Linked DNA regions of Homo sapiens: regions 1, 2 and 4 are each linked to region 3. Evidence: promoter capture Hi-C in 16 types of primary human blood cells and fetal thymus (Javierre and others, 2016). All regions are on one chromosome and are shown on one strand. Each heading gives the region's core, a stretch centred on a gene start or on the middle of the fragment in contact. The rest is flanking DNA. Distances are from core to core; before and after follow the strand shown. Region 1 overlaps HSF5 (heat shock transcription factor 5). Region 2 overlaps HSF5 (heat shock transcription factor 5). Region 3 holds the start of LPO (lactoperoxidase). Region 4 overlaps RNF43 (ring finger protein 43).

Region 1 (4,252 bases), core at 311-2,810, 220 kb after region 3:
CAAATTATTGTAGGTTAAAATGATGGTCTGTCATTTTAACCTACACTGTCATTCTGCCTGCACTGCATGCCCCTGACATGAACATAATTCTAGAATATTAAAATTGTCCACTGCAGACTTTGGTAACTTGATTTTTGGATGATATGAGACACATGTTTTATTAGATGTTACTATTTCTTCAAAAAATATGATTTTGTCTTATTAGAATCAACTGTATGTGCCTAAAACAATCACTTATTCTGGGTTCTTACAAACCACAAGAATAACAAACCATTCATTGGTATAGGGTCATACTTTATAGTATCTTTAAAATGCGCTCAGGATAATATCCTAAATTTCCATCTGATTTTCTCTTGTCACAATATAAATGCATGCCCTCTTGTCCTAGAGTCTGTTAATAACAGAGTAAGTACAACTACAATTTCGAAGTCTGGCATCTGAGGATACTTATTAAATCATCCTTCATCCTTGCCTTCTCCAAGTTAAATAATCTAAATTCCTTTGCTTATTCTTAATATGTTCTATATTTTCAAAGCCCAAATCATTATATGCAATATTAAGAAAATAACTATTACATACTTCACAACAATAATTAAGAACAAATATAGAGTTAAAATTACAGCTATGTAAAAACAGCAATGTGACAGGTCTAATACAATTATGAATAATAAATGGAGACCCAGAAAAAATGTCATTCATATATTAATTCTACAGCGTGATTCTACTTCTGGCATTCTAGAGCACAATAATCCTTACCAGGGGACTTTCCTTGTTGTGAGTTGCTTCTGTGCTCTCTGTATCTGGCTGGAGTGGCTAAACCTGTGTCTTCACTAGGCTTGCTAGCAGGCCCCATTTCTGAAATGAGGAATCCCATCTGTTCTGACGGCAAGATATTCTCACGTGAACTGGTCTGGCATTTTATGTTGGCATCCACCTAAAATATTAAACCCATTCATTATTTGAGATTTCCTCCAAATATCTGCTAAAAGTTAAGATATTTTATCAGAGGAGTTCTATTATGGGAACATGATCCAACAAACAAGCTTATAAGGCTTTTCATTCTTATTATTGATACTATACCTTTCTCCCTACACAAACTATTAAAATGTATATGGAGCTAAAACATTTACTTATGATCAGAGGAATATCTACCATGAAGCTTGTTGATTTTTTTTTAACTTACAAAAGTACAGGTTTTTTTTTTTGTTTTAAGGCAGGGTCTCACATTGTTGTCCAGGCGGGAGTACAGTGGTACAATCATAGCTCACTGTAACCTCGAGCTCATGGGCTCAAGTGATCCTCCTGAGCAGCTAGGACTACAGGTATTAGCTAATTTTTAAAAAGTTTTTTTGTAGGCCGGGCGCGGTAGCTCACAGCTGTAATCCCAGCACTTTGGGAGGCCAAGGTGGGCAGATCATGAGGTCAGGAGTTCTCGACCAGCCTGGCCAGCATGGTGAAACCCTGTCTCTACCAAAAATACAAAAAATTAGCCGGGCGTGGTAGCAGGTGCCTGTAATCCCAGCTATTCGGGAGGCTGAGGCAGGAGAATCGCTTGAACCCAGGAGATGGAGGTTGCAGTGAGCCGAGATTGTACCACTGCACTCCAGCCTGGGCAACAGAGTGAGACTACATCTCAAAAAAAAAAAAAAAAGGTTTTTTTGTAGAGACAGGGTCTCGCTATGTTGCCCAGGCTGGTAACTCCTGGTCTCAGGGGATCTTTCCACCTGGGCCTCCCAAAGCACTGGGTTTACAGACGTGAGCCACCACACCTGACCAAAAGTAAGATAGTTTCACCATGATTGGTTAAAACCATCTTTTTTCTCTGTAGAATATGTTCTATCAGACTTCCTCTCCTGTTGGAATGGCCATAGGCATGATCCTGTTAGATGGTTTCAGTGGGATGTGGATACTTTATTCTACTAATTTTGTATTCTTTCTCTTAAAGAGGCCCTCAAAATTGTATAAGCTTTAGCCCCTATAAAATCTATATCTGCCCTGTTTATAAAATACAAATTTCTTTCTTTCAGACAGGGTCTCATTCTGTTGCCCAGGCTGGAGTGTAGTGGTGTGATCACGGCTCACTACAGCCTTGACCTCCCAGGCTCAAGCTATCCTCCCACCTCAGCCTCCCAAGTACCTAGGACACAGGTGTATGCCACCACACCAAGCTAATTTTTAAAATGTTTTTGTAGGGATAGACTCTCACTATGTTGCCCAGACCAGTCTGGACTTCCTGGGTTCAAGCGATCCTCCCACCTCAGCTTCCAAAGGTGCTAGAATTACAGGCATAAGCTACTATGCCTAGCCTAAGTTTCTTTCTTACAGTTCCTAAATTTTCTTTGGAATGTAAATCCCTTTGTCAAGTTGATCAACTTCTGAAATACTCCATTTCTTTATGAATTTATTTTAAAATAAAATTATATAATGAAATAAAAAGTTTAAAACACAGCTTTATATACATATATATACACACACACACACACACACACACACACACACATACTTTTTTTTTTTTTGAGACGGAGTCTCGCTCTGTCGCCCAGGCTGGAGTGCAGTGGCGCGATCTCAGCTCGCCACAAGCTCCACCTCCTGGGTTCATGCCATTCTCCTGCCTCAGCCTCCCGAGTAGCTGGGACTACAGGCACCCACCACCACGCCCGGCTAATTTTTTGTATTTTTAGTAGAGACAGGGTTTCACCGTGTTAACCAGGATGGTCTCGATCTCCTGACCTCATGATCTGTCCGCCTCGGCCTCCCAAAGTGCTGGGATTACAGACGTGAGCCACTGCGCCTGGCCAAGATATATTTGTTAATGAAAAAGTTACTGTGTACAAGTGCAGTTTTAAGATCTGAAATATTTCAGATGTGACTATGAAGGAACAAAGACAAATTCTGTGTTCTACAAATATATTTAAAACATAATGGGGCCAGGTGCAGTGGCTCACGCCTGTAATCCCAGCACTTTGGGAGGCCGAGGTGGGCGGATCACCTTAGGTCAGGAGTTCAACACCAGCCAACATGGTGAAACCCTGTCTCTACTAAAAATACAAAAAAATAGCCAGCCTGGGGGGACACACCTGTAATCCTGGTTACTCAGGAGGCTGAGGCAGAAGGATTCCTTGAACCCAGGAGGTGGAGGTTGCAGTGAGCCAAGATTGCGCTACTGCACTCCAGCCCGAGCAACAGAGCGAGATTCCATCTCACAACAACAACAACAACAACAACAACAACAACAACAACAACAACAACAAACCATAATGGGCCTATATTTTGTCTACTGAATTTACAATATTATCTTAACACAATATACTAGATCTTGACAGTCAGGCTAAAAAAAAATGAGGTGATATAAATTTAAGACATTTGGATCTAAAAATAGAGCTAAAAAAGGCTGCAAAAAACAAAAACCTGCCAAAAGTTATCTTGGGACTTTCTAACAATGAACAGAGTTTCAGTCCTATTGAAGAAAAAATCCAAAATGGAAAAAAAATATATACACATATCAGGCTAAGATCAAGAAAAAAATAAAAAGTAGGAAAAAATACTTAATTCACACACAAAAAAAGATTTTAATTTGGGGCCAAGCACAGTGGCTCATGCCTGTAATCCCAGCACTGTGGGAGGCCAAGGCAGGTGGATCACCTGAGGTCAGGAGTTCAAGACCAGCCTGGTCAACATGGTGGAACCCCGTCTCTACTAAAAATACAAAAATTAGCTGGACATGGTGGCTCGCCTGTAATCCCAGTTACTTGGGAGGATAAGGCAGGAGAATCGTTTGAACCCAGGAGGTGGAGGCTGCAGTGAGCTGAGATTGCACCACTGCACTCCAGCCTAGGTGACAGAGAGAGACTCCACCTCAAAAAAAAAAATTTCTTTTTAATTTGGATTTTTTTGGTATTATTTTAAGAGGCACAGGTACAGTTTTATTACATGGATATACTGCATAGTGGTGAAGTCTGGGCTTTGGGTGAATAGTGTACAGTGTACCCACTAAGTAATTTCTCATCTCCGTTCCCCCTCCCACTCCCGCATCCTTCCACGTCTCCAGTGTCTATTATTCCACATTGTATGTTCAGTGTGTACACATTATTTAGCTTCCTCTTATAAAATGAGAACGTGCTATTTGACTTTGTTTCTGTGGATGTACTTTTGATGAATTATTCTTACTAATTATTCAGAATTAAAGTTTATTCATTTTCTTGTAATAAACTAGTGGCAATAAAGGAATTAGCCTTTACCTTCTGCTTTAGGA
Region 2 (4,611 bases), core at 135-2,634, 200 kb after region 3:
TGCAACTTCATGAATTGTATTTCTGCCTACACTTTAATTAAAAAACTTTTTTTTTTTTTAGCAGAGAGGTTCTAGCTTAATCATAACTCATTTTCCTCTTGTCCATAATAAAATGAAAATGTGATTAGGTGTCATAATGATGCCAAGATTTCACAACTCTTATGTTTCACAGCAGGAAGCCAACATCAATTAAGACTCATCTATTAACTGCACTGACCAAAGGATAAGGCTTTACTTAGAAAAAAAAAACAACAGGAAGAGTTAATAAAGATAATTACTGTGCTAATTATTTTATCAGTTACACTTATAACCATAACATGTAGTGAAAGAGAGGAAATTATTTTTTTAACAGCAGGCACCAGAGTTCCTCTCAGGGAGGTAATTGTCTTTGTTGAGGAATATGTCTCGATAGATTGTTCTGGTTGGGAAAAATGACGCCTTAAAAACATCAAAAAATAGAAGAGATACCTAACCTTCTTTGCCTAAGTAAAACACAGGAATTCAGCACCTGGGGAAAGAGCAGAAAAAAAAAACCAACCATAACAACAACAACAACAGAAAGCAGAGAAACGAAGGTCTGGTGCTAGTACAAGGAAAGAAAGCAACATGGCAGAGGACCATATTGACTAGTGACAAGGAAAGATGCCGTAAAGTGACTGGGGGCCTTTTAATTCCATTTTTGCGGTATTCTAAATATTTCTGTCGGTATTTCTGCCTCCCGACATCTTCATAAAAGTGTGCTACACATACACATGCCTAGCATAATGCTTAAAGGGAGGAAGAGGTCAAAGAAAGTGGGCCAAGTTCTGCATCTGGTATAGCATGGAACAGACAGATAAGAACAGCCCTGGGAGGTCAGATATGGACAAGTCTGGAATTACATTTAAGCAGAAACTCAAAAATAAAAGCTACTGTGAACCCTAGAAAGTCTCAGAAATCTTAGAAAGGCATTCTTGGTATAGGGTAAGTTTATCTTGAGTCAATCATATCTAAACCTCAAAAGTCAGTTTACTATCTGGGATATAAATATTTTTTAAAAACACTCTGAAATTGTTCATTTCTATTACTTTAAGGCTTTTATATTCCTGCTATAGGAACACTTCAAGTATTTAAACTACTTTTAGTATTTTTAGATTTTTTAAAATTTGAAAAACATAGAAGAATACAGATGGTGAAAATTTCCCGTAATCCTATTATATATACATATACAAATTGAGAAGTTAAGCATACCCCTGCACCCATACATTCTATCTTCTGAGAGATAACTAGTGTTATATTTATCAGCTATATCGTATATCTCCAGACTTTTTTCTATAATTTTACAGCATATACTTTCTTTTCTTTCTTTCTAGAAAGGGGGTTGTGCTAGACATATTGTGTTGCAACTTACCCATTTGCTGAACACATTATGAACACTTACTGTCTTTCCAGGTCACAACACATCAAGCTACTTCAGTTTCTTAAATGGTTGCACAGTATTTTATTATGTAGATGTCATAATGTATCTGGTTCCCCACTGTCAGGCATTTATGCTTTTCTCAAATTTTTGCTATTATAAATAACACTATAGCAAACTTATTTTGAGTACCTTTGGGAATATACACATTTCTACAGGAGAGATTCCCAGGAGTAGAGTTCCTGAGTCAAAACTCATAAGCATTTTAGTTATCTATAAATAATGCCAATTGTCCTTTATAGGGCTATACGAATTTACATTCCAATTACAGCATAGAGAAGGTTCCTTTTCTCTATACCTTTATCAAAGCTGGATATTATCAACAGTTAAAGTTTTGCCAATCAAATTGCCAAAAAAAAAAATAATTGGTTGATTTTGGTCAGTGACAGACCATATAGATGATGATGATTCTGTAAGATTGTACTCTATTTTTACTGTACCATTTCTATGCTTAGCTATGTTTAGATACACAAATACCACTGTATTACAATTGCTTACAATATTCAATACAGTAACATGCTGTAAGGGTTTGTAGCCTAGAAGCAATAGGCTATACTATACAGCCTAGGTATGTAGTAGGCAACATCATCTAGGTTTGTGTAAGTACAATTCACAATGTTTATAAAACAATAACATTAACTAATGACATAGTTCTCAGAATACATTCCTGTCATTAAGGGATACATGATTATATGTGCTACTGGCTTTGCAGTCAGGCAGCACATGGTTAGGACACAGCAAGCTAGAATGTTGGTGATCTTTGTTATCCATGCCAACATATTTGGTAAAATCATTACCTGTGACACCATGGAAGTCAGACCACACATGCCAAGTGAACATACAACCATGGGGGAAAAGATTGACAAAAATCACAAGGTGTTGACTATTTCTTGACACATTCAGCAAAGCCCTAAAAGAAGAGATAAACTCAGGCTAGAGGTACCTAGTGTGCAAGCAGAGATGGAAGGGAATATTTGACTGCCTGTGGTTGACAACTTATTGACTAGAGTTCAGTAACTGGGTCATGAATCCAACTGCTTCAATACCCCAACCTGAAGTTGCACTAAGAAGTGCCTTAAGGCCAGGCATGGTGGCTGACACCTGTAATCCCAGCACTTTGGGAGGCTAAGTTGGGAGGATTGCTTGAGACCAGGAGTTGGAGATCAGCCTGGGCAACACAGTGAGACTCCATCTCTTTGAAAAGTAAAAAAAAATCAGCTAGGTGTGGTGGCATGTGCCTGTAGTCCCAGCTACTTCTTTGGGGGGTTGGGGGTAGGTTGGTTGAGGTGGGAGGATCACTTTAGCCCAGAGATCAAGGCTGCAGTGAGCTATGATCGTGCCAGACTAGGCAACAGAGTGAGACCCTGCCTCAAAAAAAAAATAATAATAAATAAAAAAAATTGGTGGTACATGCTGATTAACATTAAGCTAAGCCCAACAGTTGACAAATCTTGTCAACAGAGCTTCTGTAAGCTTTTTAATGCTCCATTCTTGAATAGGGAAGAAAGCCAATGGAAAAAAAAAACAAAAACAACAACAACCAAAAAAAAAAACCAGAAAGAACGTAGAGGAAACTGACATATGTTGTGGGGAAACAACTTCAAAACCAGCCCTTCCATTTAGTATCCTCAGAGAGCTATAAGAAGATATTATATCCATATAAAAGAACAGCAAGTTCCCCCAAAAAGGAACAATTATAGAATAGAATAAAAAAGAGCTGTTAGAAGTTATAATTTTTTTTTTTTTGAGACGGAGTTTTGCTCTTGTTGCCCAGGCTAAAGTGCAATAGCGCGATCTCGGCTCACTGCAACCTCCACCTCCCGGGTTCAAGCAATTCTCCTGCCTTAGCCTCCTGAGTAGCTGGCATTACAAGCATGCGCCACCATGCCCAGCTAATTCTGTATTTTCAGTAGAGACGGGGTTTCACCATGTTGGTCAGGCTGGTCTGGAACTCCCAACCTCAGGTGATCCGCCCGCCTTGGCCTCCCAAAGTGCTGGGATTACAGGCATGAGCCACCATGCCCAACTGGAAATTATAAATTTAGTAGCCAAATTTTTAAAATTAAACATTTGAAAGTTTCATCTGAGGAACATTCCACAAAATAGAAAAAAGATAAAAGTATAACAAAATTGAAAGAAAAAAACAGAGAGAGAAGTTCATCTCAGCATATCCAATACTGGACTAAAGAAAAAATAGGAAAAATGGAAGGGTAAAGAGGTAAGAATTTTTTTTTTTAATGATATGACCACTTCTGGTAATGTCAGGCCTGATAATTAAGACCAGCTTTCCTATTGAAGACAACTAAAAAACCTGGACAGATGATAGAAACAATATTCTTTAAAAGTCTCAAAAGGTAATGAGATAGTAAAGAATGACTGGGCTGAGTGTCAGGTGAGAGTGGGGATCCAGAGAGTAAGCCTTGTATTTGAGGCTACTTTTACCTTTGTGACATTTGCCATCTGTAGGAGATTGAGAGGCTGAGCTTTGCCTTTTGGGTCTAGAGGGACAAATGTCAGAGACTGGGCTTGTCAAAGGTTGAGTTCTGATGAGATTCCCACTTTTATGGCTAGGATCTCAATAAGCTGCACCCAGGAGAGGATGAACCACAGGGAAACAAGCCCTTGCACAGTTTGTGGTCAGAAAAATCTCAGGCTCTGAACTGGATTAAGGTGATCCCTAATTGCCAGTGACCCCAATTGCCTGGTAGAAACAAATCTTATTTGAGGAAGATAATGTCATCCTAGGCCTTAAATTATTTTTACAAGTAACTTTTCAAATACTATTCTTCAAATACTATGTCCAGCATACAGCGAAAATAACCAGTTACATGAGGGAGTAGCCACTGTGGTTGAGAACCAACACAAATGAGACAACTGAAAGAGACCTGTGGAAACTCCATATACTGGAATTACCAGAATTCAGCAAGAAAACAACCATGCTTACTATTTCAAGGAGGCAAATTCCAAGCTTGAAAAATTTTGGCAGATAACTAGAAACTCAAAAATGTGACCAGAGGTCTGGAAAAAAGAACAAACAGAAATCCTAGAATTGAAAAATAATCAAATTAATAACTCAGTGGATGAGTCAAACAGCACATTAGACCTAGTCTCAGAGAAAGAGTGAACATGAAGGTAGAAGAAATAACTCAAAAAGG
Region 3 (4,599 bases), core at 1,219-3,718:
AGCCACCCTTGGGACAAGAAGTCTGTTTGTTTGGTGTTCTAGGAAACCAACAAAAGGAAATGCATTTTAGCCAGGAAAGAAAAGAAAAAAAACAACCCTGCCCAGCTATGAATGACAGCCAAGCCAGCAGACAAAGGTGAAAACAGACAGCTAAGGAAGGGACTAGCTATGCGCCCATGGGAGAGAGCACCTGACATGGGCCCAGTGTGAGAGCTACAATCACCTTACACAAATAGAATGGTCACTGTGTTACCAACCATGAGTATCCTTTGGATCAACCAAAGGTTGTGTATGCAGCATGCAGCATTCTAATTCTAGAAGGCGACAGAGGTGAGCCAGCTATGTCCAAAATCAGTCTCATTTATAAACTGTGTGTTCCTGGGAAGTATGTGTGCATGTTTGTGTGTGTGTGTGGGTGTGTGTACTGTCATGTGCCAGCGATAGACCTTATCTTCATTGGGTACTCCCTGCTGCTGCTGCTTTTGCTAAAATATCTTGGACTCTGCACTGACATATGAGAAGCTATTGGCCTTTTTAGCTTTCTCCTGAACTTTCTGCCTTCCACTCTCCATTTCTCAGGCCAATTTGCCATTCCCACATGGGAAGACATCTACCTGTGCTACAGATTTGACTAGACTGAGATAAACCCATGAAAACATGTCATCACATGTCAGCAAAGCTCTCAAATAAAAATTAGCTATAGAACAATAGGCATGTCACTGTCAGATTGACTGCCTCCAGGTGTGCTTCACGGCCAATATCAAGGAAGGTCCTTACTGGGCTGGAGCTGACACTGCCCCATCCTATTTGACCCATTACAGAAAGACCAAAGCTAGGACATATCATATCATGTCATAACATGATAAAACCCGGGAATAATCAGACCTGTATTTTGCTGTTACCCTGACCAATAAGTCACTATATTTTGTACATAGGAAGCAATGTTATCCCATAGGGTCTTCTAAAAGGAAGTTCCATCTTCAGATTATTCAGAACCAACTAGGTCAAGATCTGCCTAACAACACAGCTTCCTGAACATATTAAGCATAAAACTCAGAGGCAAGAACCTTGAGAAACATGTGCCAAAGTTCAGGGAATGGTCAGACACAGAAAAACAATGCTTGGCTAAGGAGCTGAAGTGTGTTTCAAAGAAAACAAGAAGAGCCTGATGTCTCATTCACCTCTCCTGGACAGCTGCCTTCTTCCGAGATGCCCAGCTTATTTGCCTGGATTCATCACGAGAGAAGTAGTTTTTAGATATATTCCACCATCTAGAGAAAGGAAATATCACTTTTTTGAAGGCGAACCAAGAAGTCTGTTTTGGGGTTGATAAATTTCTGACAGTTGCTCCCAGAGTATTTTCAACTCAAAGTATAATTTCATAAAGAGGCTTATTATGTTTTAAATTGTCTGTCTGTAAAATATACTTTCATGAAATTTTGTTTTCTCGGAATCTTCCTTTTTCCTTCTTGTATGAATCTAATGAACTTGAATTTCCAAAGTCATTGAGGTAGGAAAGGTATGTAACATTATGCTTGAGCTTTAGGTCAATAATTTATACGATAGTGGTGGTTTTGTTTTGTTTCGTTTTGTTGAGACAGAGTCTCGTCCTGTCACCCAGGCTGGAGTGCAATGGCATGATCTTGGCTCACTGCAACCCCTGCCTCCCAGGTTCAAGTGATTCTCCCACCTCAGCCTCCCAGGTAGCTGGGATTACAGGTATGCACCTCCATGCCTGGTTAATTTTTGTGTTTTTAGTAGAGACAGGGTTTCACCATGTTGGCTGGGCTGGTCTCCAACTCCTGACCTCAAGTGATCCACCCACCTTGGCCTCCCAGATTCTGGAGTTTTTTAAATGGGTCACCCTATAGAAGGCATGAAGTCATAGAATCATAATAATCACCAAAACCAACCATTGATTTCAATACTAGAAAATTTGAGACACCAGAAGGTGAAGTGACTTGCCTAGAGCCATACAATGGCAGAGGCAGGGACTGCAACCCACTATGAAAGCTTAGGGCTCTTCTCACCCTTTGGTGGCCAAAAGTATTTTGAAATTTTGACCAAAAAAATTAATGTTTATTGATCACTTTAAATCCAAAAGATGAATCCACTGGATTCCACAGTAAATTGGGTGGAATGTAAGGGAGGGATCAAAGGGCAGTGAATATATGAATGGGGAGGAGAACCATTTAGCTAGGTGCAAAAGTAATTGCGGTTTTTGCAATACTTTTGCACCAACCTAATAATTGTTCATAATTCTAAGAGCTATTCGGATCCCATTAGGAGCTTAAAAGGGACAAATGTGCTCAGGGCATGCAGTTTTTGCCTTCCGGAACTAGATCAGGATCATGCATTTAAGCTAGAAAATGGAAAGAGGAGTTGCTTCACCCACAGTCAGTGCTATTGCATCAACCAATCCCTGCCATTCTGCAGTTTCCTGGTGTATCTGCCCGGAGTCACACAGTCTTTCCTGCTAAGCCTCAGCGTCTCCTCCAAGCCACATCAAAATCTTTCCTTCTGGGCCTTTCCCAGAAGTGAATTCTTGCTGGAAGGTATAAAAGACCAGCTCCTCCAAGCAGAGCAACTCCCTGGCTGCCGTGAAAAGACAAGGCACTGGGCAGGTAAGACTCGTCAACTTTCATCTTTCCTGGTTTCTGCAAAGTTGATGATGAAATTTCCTAACGTCTTCTCAGAAAGCTTAACACTGGATTTAGACTTGTCTCTATCAGGCACTTTCTGGTGCCAGCTTTAGCCACCCCATGGCACACTCCTCTTGTTTGGTATAAGAGAGAATGTAATTAAGCCTCCCCCCACCACTGTGGGGGAAAAAGGCTTTTCTGTGTCTGAAAACTATGTCAGAGAATCATAAACTCTTAGGGCTGGAAGGTACCATAGACCTCTCTTATCCACCTTGTTTAGGAACTGAGACTTAAGCAATTTAATGTGTCCAGAGTCACACAGGAATTTGGGGGAAAACAGTGACAGAATGGTGCTCCCTGTGCTGTTCTTGAGACAGTGTGATGAAATCTGGCCTCTCCACTATAGTGGAGATTTTGCAGTGTTTTAAGGGGTTCCCTAAGCCGGAGCTGTCAGGTCTTCATCTCATTTCCAGCATCTCATGCCTGCCATCTGCAGCAGATCCGACCATCTAGTTTGCCCTCAATGTCTAGTCCTAGCTGTCTTAAGTGCCCTGTGGACACCTGGCTCTCAAGCAGGTGTGTGACCTGTATGCAGCGGTAGTAGGCAGGCTTCATTTTGGGGGAATGGGGTGGTTAAATTATATTTGTTTTTTATGCAATTGTGTGCCTCAAATCTTTCAGTTGAAGTAGATTATTTCCGCTCTAGAGGGCTTGATAAGAGCTATCTCTTCATTCTCATCCTGATCTTGGAGTCACTCAAAAGATCAAGAGAGTGTTCCTGCAGGTGATGGGGCAAGAATTATGGCTTTCCTATTGGCTCACTCCACCACCCTCCACAGGGCTCTTTACAATCATGGAAGAGAATCTCACTGACTTCATCCCTTCTCAGGCCTTCCCCCTATCTCCTTGGTGACTGCTCAGCGACATTGAGAACCAAAGTCTGGAAGGCCTTGGTACTCAGAGTGTGGTCTGCAGACCAGCAACATCATCATCACCTGGAGCTTACTGGAAATGCAGACTTTCAGGCCCCTTCTATGACCTTCTGAGTCAGAATCTGCATTTACCAAAATCCCTAGGTGATAGTAGGCACATTACAGTGTGAGAGGCTTGCCGAGGGACTATCTCTGCCCTCTCCCTCTGCAACCTCCAGATGCTGAATTTCTCTGCTCTAGGAGTTTTATTCATTCAGCATGCACCCAACACCTATTATGTATTGACATGCTTAGGTCCTGGGAAAACAAATAAATAAGATGGAGCCCTTGAGGAGTTCATGGTCTGATAGGGGAAACAGATGTGAAGACAGTAATATGAGATATGGATGAAATACTGTGGGAGGACAGAAAAAGGAACGATCTAACTTTTCCTGGAGAAAACTGGTAAACTTCACAGAGGAGGTGAAATTTGGTCTGGGTTTTGAAGAATGAATAGGAGTTTATTAGCCAGAGAGGGTATTGTATAGGGAAGAGCATGAGTAGAGGCATGGGATTGTGGACCAGCCTGGCATTTGAGGGGCAAAGGCTGTGGCTCTGTCTCCAGATAGTGCTTCATGTCCCAGGGAAGGCTCCAGGCTTTGCTGCAAATCAAAGGGCTTGGGAAATGGTTTCTGCACTCAGCATGTTGATAAGAATATGGATAAATATCTACACATCACAGGAGCCTCTTGTTGGCCTCTTACACTCTAAAGCCCCAGGCCCTCTTGCCCTGTGTGGTTCTGGCTGAAGACAGTGTCCCTCTAGAATCTTTCTGCACACCCCCTTTTCAGTGACATGACCTTGTATTCACCTGGCTCTGATTTTTGTTCATACCCGTCCCTCACACCCACCAGGAACATTGCCCAAGACATGGGAAAATAATTTCTCTCTGGCCTTGAAGTCCCCCTCCTCCACTTTCCAGTGAGGAGAGCATGAAGGGGGTCCTAAAGAAGAGGAGAGGAGAATTGAATATTTAAGTATTGTTT
Region 4 (4,283 bases), core at 281-2,780, 170 kb after region 3:
GTGCCCCGTGCTTGTGGTCCCAGCTACTTGGGGGAGCTGAAGTGGGCAGATCGCTTGAGACTAGGAGGTTGAGGCTGCAGTGAGCCGTGTCTGTGCCACTGCCCTCCATCCTGGAAGACAGAACAAGACCCTATCTCAAAATACAAAGAAACAAAAAAAGTAAAGTAAATTATGGCTAGTTTTGGGCTAATTACAACACACACACATATATACATACACACTTTACTATAATACAAAACCCAAGGAAGTACCTACCCCCCCAGCCCCGCCCCCCACCAACCGAGAGTCTGCCAAATGAACACTAAATAGCCTGATGGGAGCAATAGCCAGGGACATATTTCATTCATTACCTCCTATTAACCAGATATGTACGAAGCTGAACTTACAAATTTTTGTTGGATACAAATTTTTGTTGAAGTACAGAACTGTGATATATATAAATCTGTTTGATGATAACTTATAAAAGAGATATCTTCTTAACTTGAAAAATTATCATTAAAAATATTCTGCAGCTTCCTTCTATTCTGTGGGTGCCAGGCTTCTAACAACAAGGCCAAGTCTAGAATAGAAGACTCTAAAAGCCATGTCAGGAAGGCTCTGAGCTGGGATCACAGGAGACAAGCACCTAAGAATGTTTGTGCGCACAGAGGAACTGTGTCTGATGGTGTACTCCTGACTACATTCCAAAGTCAGTAATTAATTAATTGGATTTTCTGCACCTTCATTTACATAAGTAACAGAGTTGATCATACTTTGAATATCTACTCTGTACTTCTTCTAAAGGCTGGCATCAAAACAAAATCACAAAATTTCTATTTCAAAATTTCTTCATAGAAGGAACTCTAACTTGAGCAATGCCAGTTAAATGCATGCTATGTCAGTGTTTATTATTTCAGGTTCCTATATTAGATAACTTAACCTAGACTTTTAAAATGAAGAGAAAGGTGATGAAATATGTTACATTATAAGGGAGATACTGAGTAAACAGACATTGTGATTTACTAGTATCTTTGCAAATGAAACACAAAATGAGAGAAATAGAAGAAATACAGAGATTATTAGAAGGTAGCAGGATATGATGCACTCTGGATCAATCTCAGATAATGGTACTCATCACTTTCATTCCTTTCTACTCTGGAAATAAATTTTTTATACAAAGCCTATACTGATATTCTCTTCATCTGTGGCATTCTTACATATACAGAATTTTAGAGCTGGAAAAGCATGGGCTCTGCAGTTCAAGTTCCAGCAACACCACTTACTAGATAATAATAGTTAATACTTTGACAGATATTAACATTTTAATCCTCAGTTTCCTTATCTGTAAAATGTAAAAAATAAAGGTACTGAATTTCTTCTCTCATAAAGTTATTATGAGAATTCAGTGAGCTAATACATGTAAAGTGCATGTAAATAGCACAAGTTTGGCAATATTGTATTTTAATTCCTCAACTTCACAGCCTGGGAATCTGAAGCCTAGAAAGGTAAACACTATTTTGTCCCAAATCACACAACTATTAATATTTAGTGTCAGCATATTCTTCTGTGTGTAGAACTAAAAGTCAAGCCCCCCAAGTCACAGTTTAGACACTTTGTCAACTATAGTTTGCAATATAGGACTGTCTCTCTAGCTTTGGCCAAAAACTTAAAGTTTCAGGTCCTGCCTACAAATAATGTAAAAATGCAAAGATGGGATAACTATGTGTTGACTAACAGATAAAATTAAGAGGCAAGCAGAGACATTGTGCAAAGGGGAATTTCTCCAGGAGGTGCTCACTGCTACTGGCCAAGTGCTAAACTACTGCTGCTCCCATTGTAGGTCTGAAGACTCAGGGGAATACATTTTAATCTTGATCATAACTTTATCCTGGAGTCTAAGAAAATCCAGGATAACCAGCTGAGCAGGAAGAGTGTGATAGAGAATTGGTGACCTCTTTGTGCTACACTAAGATCCTCTTACTCTTTTGCTCTGAGAAGAAAGATTAATTTTGAGTTGTCCCTTGAAATAATATTTATAAATGATAAACAGGATTGAGAAATAAAATATGACTGTAATCACTTTTAGAAGTGGTGGCAATAATATTGCTTGAAATAAAAGAAACAAACATTGATAAGAGGTAACCAAACCAGAAAACCGGAAATTAGACAATGAATCAGCTCCAACACTTTTCCTTCTACAATGGTATAAACCAGGAGAGAAAGAATATATTCCAATGTGAATAAAAACAGTAAGAAGTAATCACTATCATTTAGTCCTTTTTATCAGTCACCGCCAGGTAATTAGGAGATCTGAAAAGTTTCCTTGACCTAGATTTTTGATGGCTATTAAAATACCAATCCAGAATAGCAGTGGAAGGTAATCCTAAATATACAAATTCAGTGGAAAACAAAAGAAAAATAAAAGAGTGGAAGGAAATCAGAGAAGAGGAAGAGACAAATATTTTGGCAAATATAGGGGAAACCTAAGAATTAGATACTTTAAAGACAATGACAAACCTGCAAAAAGAGTTGGAATGATACAGTAATATAAAGAAGCAACTCTTGGGGAAAATAATAAAATTTGGACAGGACTAAAATGAGATGTTCTGAAATGGAAAAGAGAGGACTTGAGAAATAGAAGGGCAAAGGCAACACCATTTCCTCTTCTATTTTGACTTTCTTCTAGCGCTTTTAGAAGAATATTACAATTTATAATTTTGAACATACCTTGTAAAATGAATCATTACTATTGGCAAGGAGAAACCTAAGCACAAAGACTGAGAGATAAGAATCAGAACAAAAATCATCAAAACTTGACTTTTAATGCCCTTATACATACAGCCATCAGATAAAGTTGAGACAAAATTCTTTTAGAGGCAATTCTATGGTCTATTTTACTATTCAACAAATTGGGGGCACATTGTCAAGGGGGGGGGTCTCCTTTTGTCTAAGAAAAAATTAAAATCATAATACAAATGAAAATTCAGTCAGTTTGGTCCTTATGAAATTGTCTATACACTGAATTAATTGAGCAAAATGTAAAGAAATGTCTGATTTTCAGAAATTATCTCAGAATTCCAGAAATAACAACATGGTTTTTTTTTTTTTAAATCACTGTTCTCATAACTGTACATTTTTTGGTACATACATAGCATCCTCAAGTTTAAAAAGATTTGACTGCAATCTTTGGAGACAAATAATCTTAACAGGTAACTACAACAATTCATAGGTAGAAGGATTCACAGAATTATCCAGAATTCCTCAAAACCGAAGAGAAGACTACTTTTAGATTTCTGACACCAGGGTACAGCTCTCCATTGAGAAAGCTAAAGTTCAGCAAAGCACATCTCTAGAAGATATAAACAGAACTTCAGTTAAATGGAAGGCTTGGCTAACCACAGTTGAGTAAACCTGAGTTGCAGTGTAATCTGATAAGGAACAAACAGCATGGATTCCAGAAGTGTAAACCATGTGTCCCTAACACACTAGAGTTCTTTGAAAGAATTAATCAAAGAATGGATAAAGAAAACCATATATATAATTCAGAAGCTTGTTTTTTAAAAAAGTTTCTCACAAGAGGCTGTTGAAAAACTTTAATAACTGTTGTAGATTAAAAATTGATTAACAGACAATAAACCGAAACCAATATGGAAAGTATCCAGAAATGAATACTAAGCTAGTGAAAAAACTTATTTAAAGACCTAAACGAAGCATATGTGGACAGAAAGGAGATGACTAAAAATTGCCAATGACATAAAACTATCCACTGTAAAGGCTGAAAGTCTTTGCTAAGTTATGATGAAATTCCCTCTTCACAAAGTAAAAGCAATACTTAATGTATAATGATAGGATCAAAGTTAATAGTTTAAAAAACAAAATAGATTGGTAAGATTTGCCAGAGTGAGAAAAACGATAGAACAATAGAAGACATGATAAAGATTGATAAAATAATGAATGGCAAAGAGAATGCCAACTGGTGCTGTTTGTTTACTTTTTCCTTTATGAAAACACAAACTTTATGTAGAGCTTTATGATAATAAGATTAAAACTTAAAAGAATACATTATTTTATGGAACACATAATTAGCCCACTGAACATGCTATCACAGGTTATCAATAAGGCACGTATGGCTCTCAAAAACTTCAGTGATATCAAAATATGACTAGCAAAATTACTTACGGTCCTAAAATGGAGCACACAATTCATGCTTCAGGGTATTAACTAGGCAAGGCCAGGAAGGAAGTTTCCTTTCCAATTGCCATAGTATTCAAGATGATTTATGAGTTCAGCTTTTAAGTATTCCT

Evidence for each region. The method cuts DNA at HindIII sites, captures the fragments that hold promoters and counts their contacts. A CHiCAGO score of 5 or more calls a contact.
Region 1: a contact is called between a fragment that was not itself captured here and the fragment with the promoter of LPO in region 3, in 2 of 17 cell types (M2 macrophages and erythroblasts). The highest score is 5.1, in M2 macrophages.
Region 2: a fragment that was not itself captured here is called in contact with the fragment with the promoter of LPO in region 3 in 3 of 17 cell types (M2 macrophages, M1 macrophages and M0 macrophages); the score reaches 8.2 in M2 macrophages.
Region 4: a fragment that was not itself captured here is called in contact with the fragment with the promoter of LPO in region 3 in 2 of 17 cell types (monocytes and M2 macrophages); the score reaches 5.6 in monocytes.

What each region holds. Positions count from the first base shown.
Region 1 is chr17:58,458,012-58,462,263 of GRCh38, forward strand. It overlaps HSF5 (heat shock transcription factor 5), which reads right to left. Exons shown (of 6, transcript NM_001080439.3): 5 at 757-934. Among named protein-coding and RNA genes, the nearest start is that of HSF5, 28 kb to the right of the region's middle. The HindIII fragment of the contact is 807 bases long and covers 1,158-1,964 here.
Region 2 is chr17:58,436,300-58,440,910 of GRCh38, forward strand. All of the region lies in intron 5 of HSF5 (heat shock transcription factor 5), which reads right to left. Among named protein-coding and RNA genes, the nearest start is that of RNF43, 21 kb to the left of the region's middle. The HindIII fragment of the contact is 3,086 bases long and covers 1-2,927 here.
Region 3 is chr17:58,236,116-58,240,714 of GRCh38, forward strand. LPO (lactoperoxidase) reads left to right here and starts at 2,469. Exons shown (of 13, transcript NM_006151.3): 1 at 2,469-2,624. The HindIII fragment of the contact is 687 bases long and covers 2,012-2,698 here.
Region 4 is chr17:58,409,749-58,414,031 of GRCh38, forward strand. The region is part of intron 2 of RNF43 (ring finger protein 43); the gene reads right to left. Among named protein-coding and RNA genes, the nearest start is that of RNF43, 5.6 kb to the right of the region's middle. The HindIII fragment of the contact is 3,991 bases long and covers 1-3,526 here.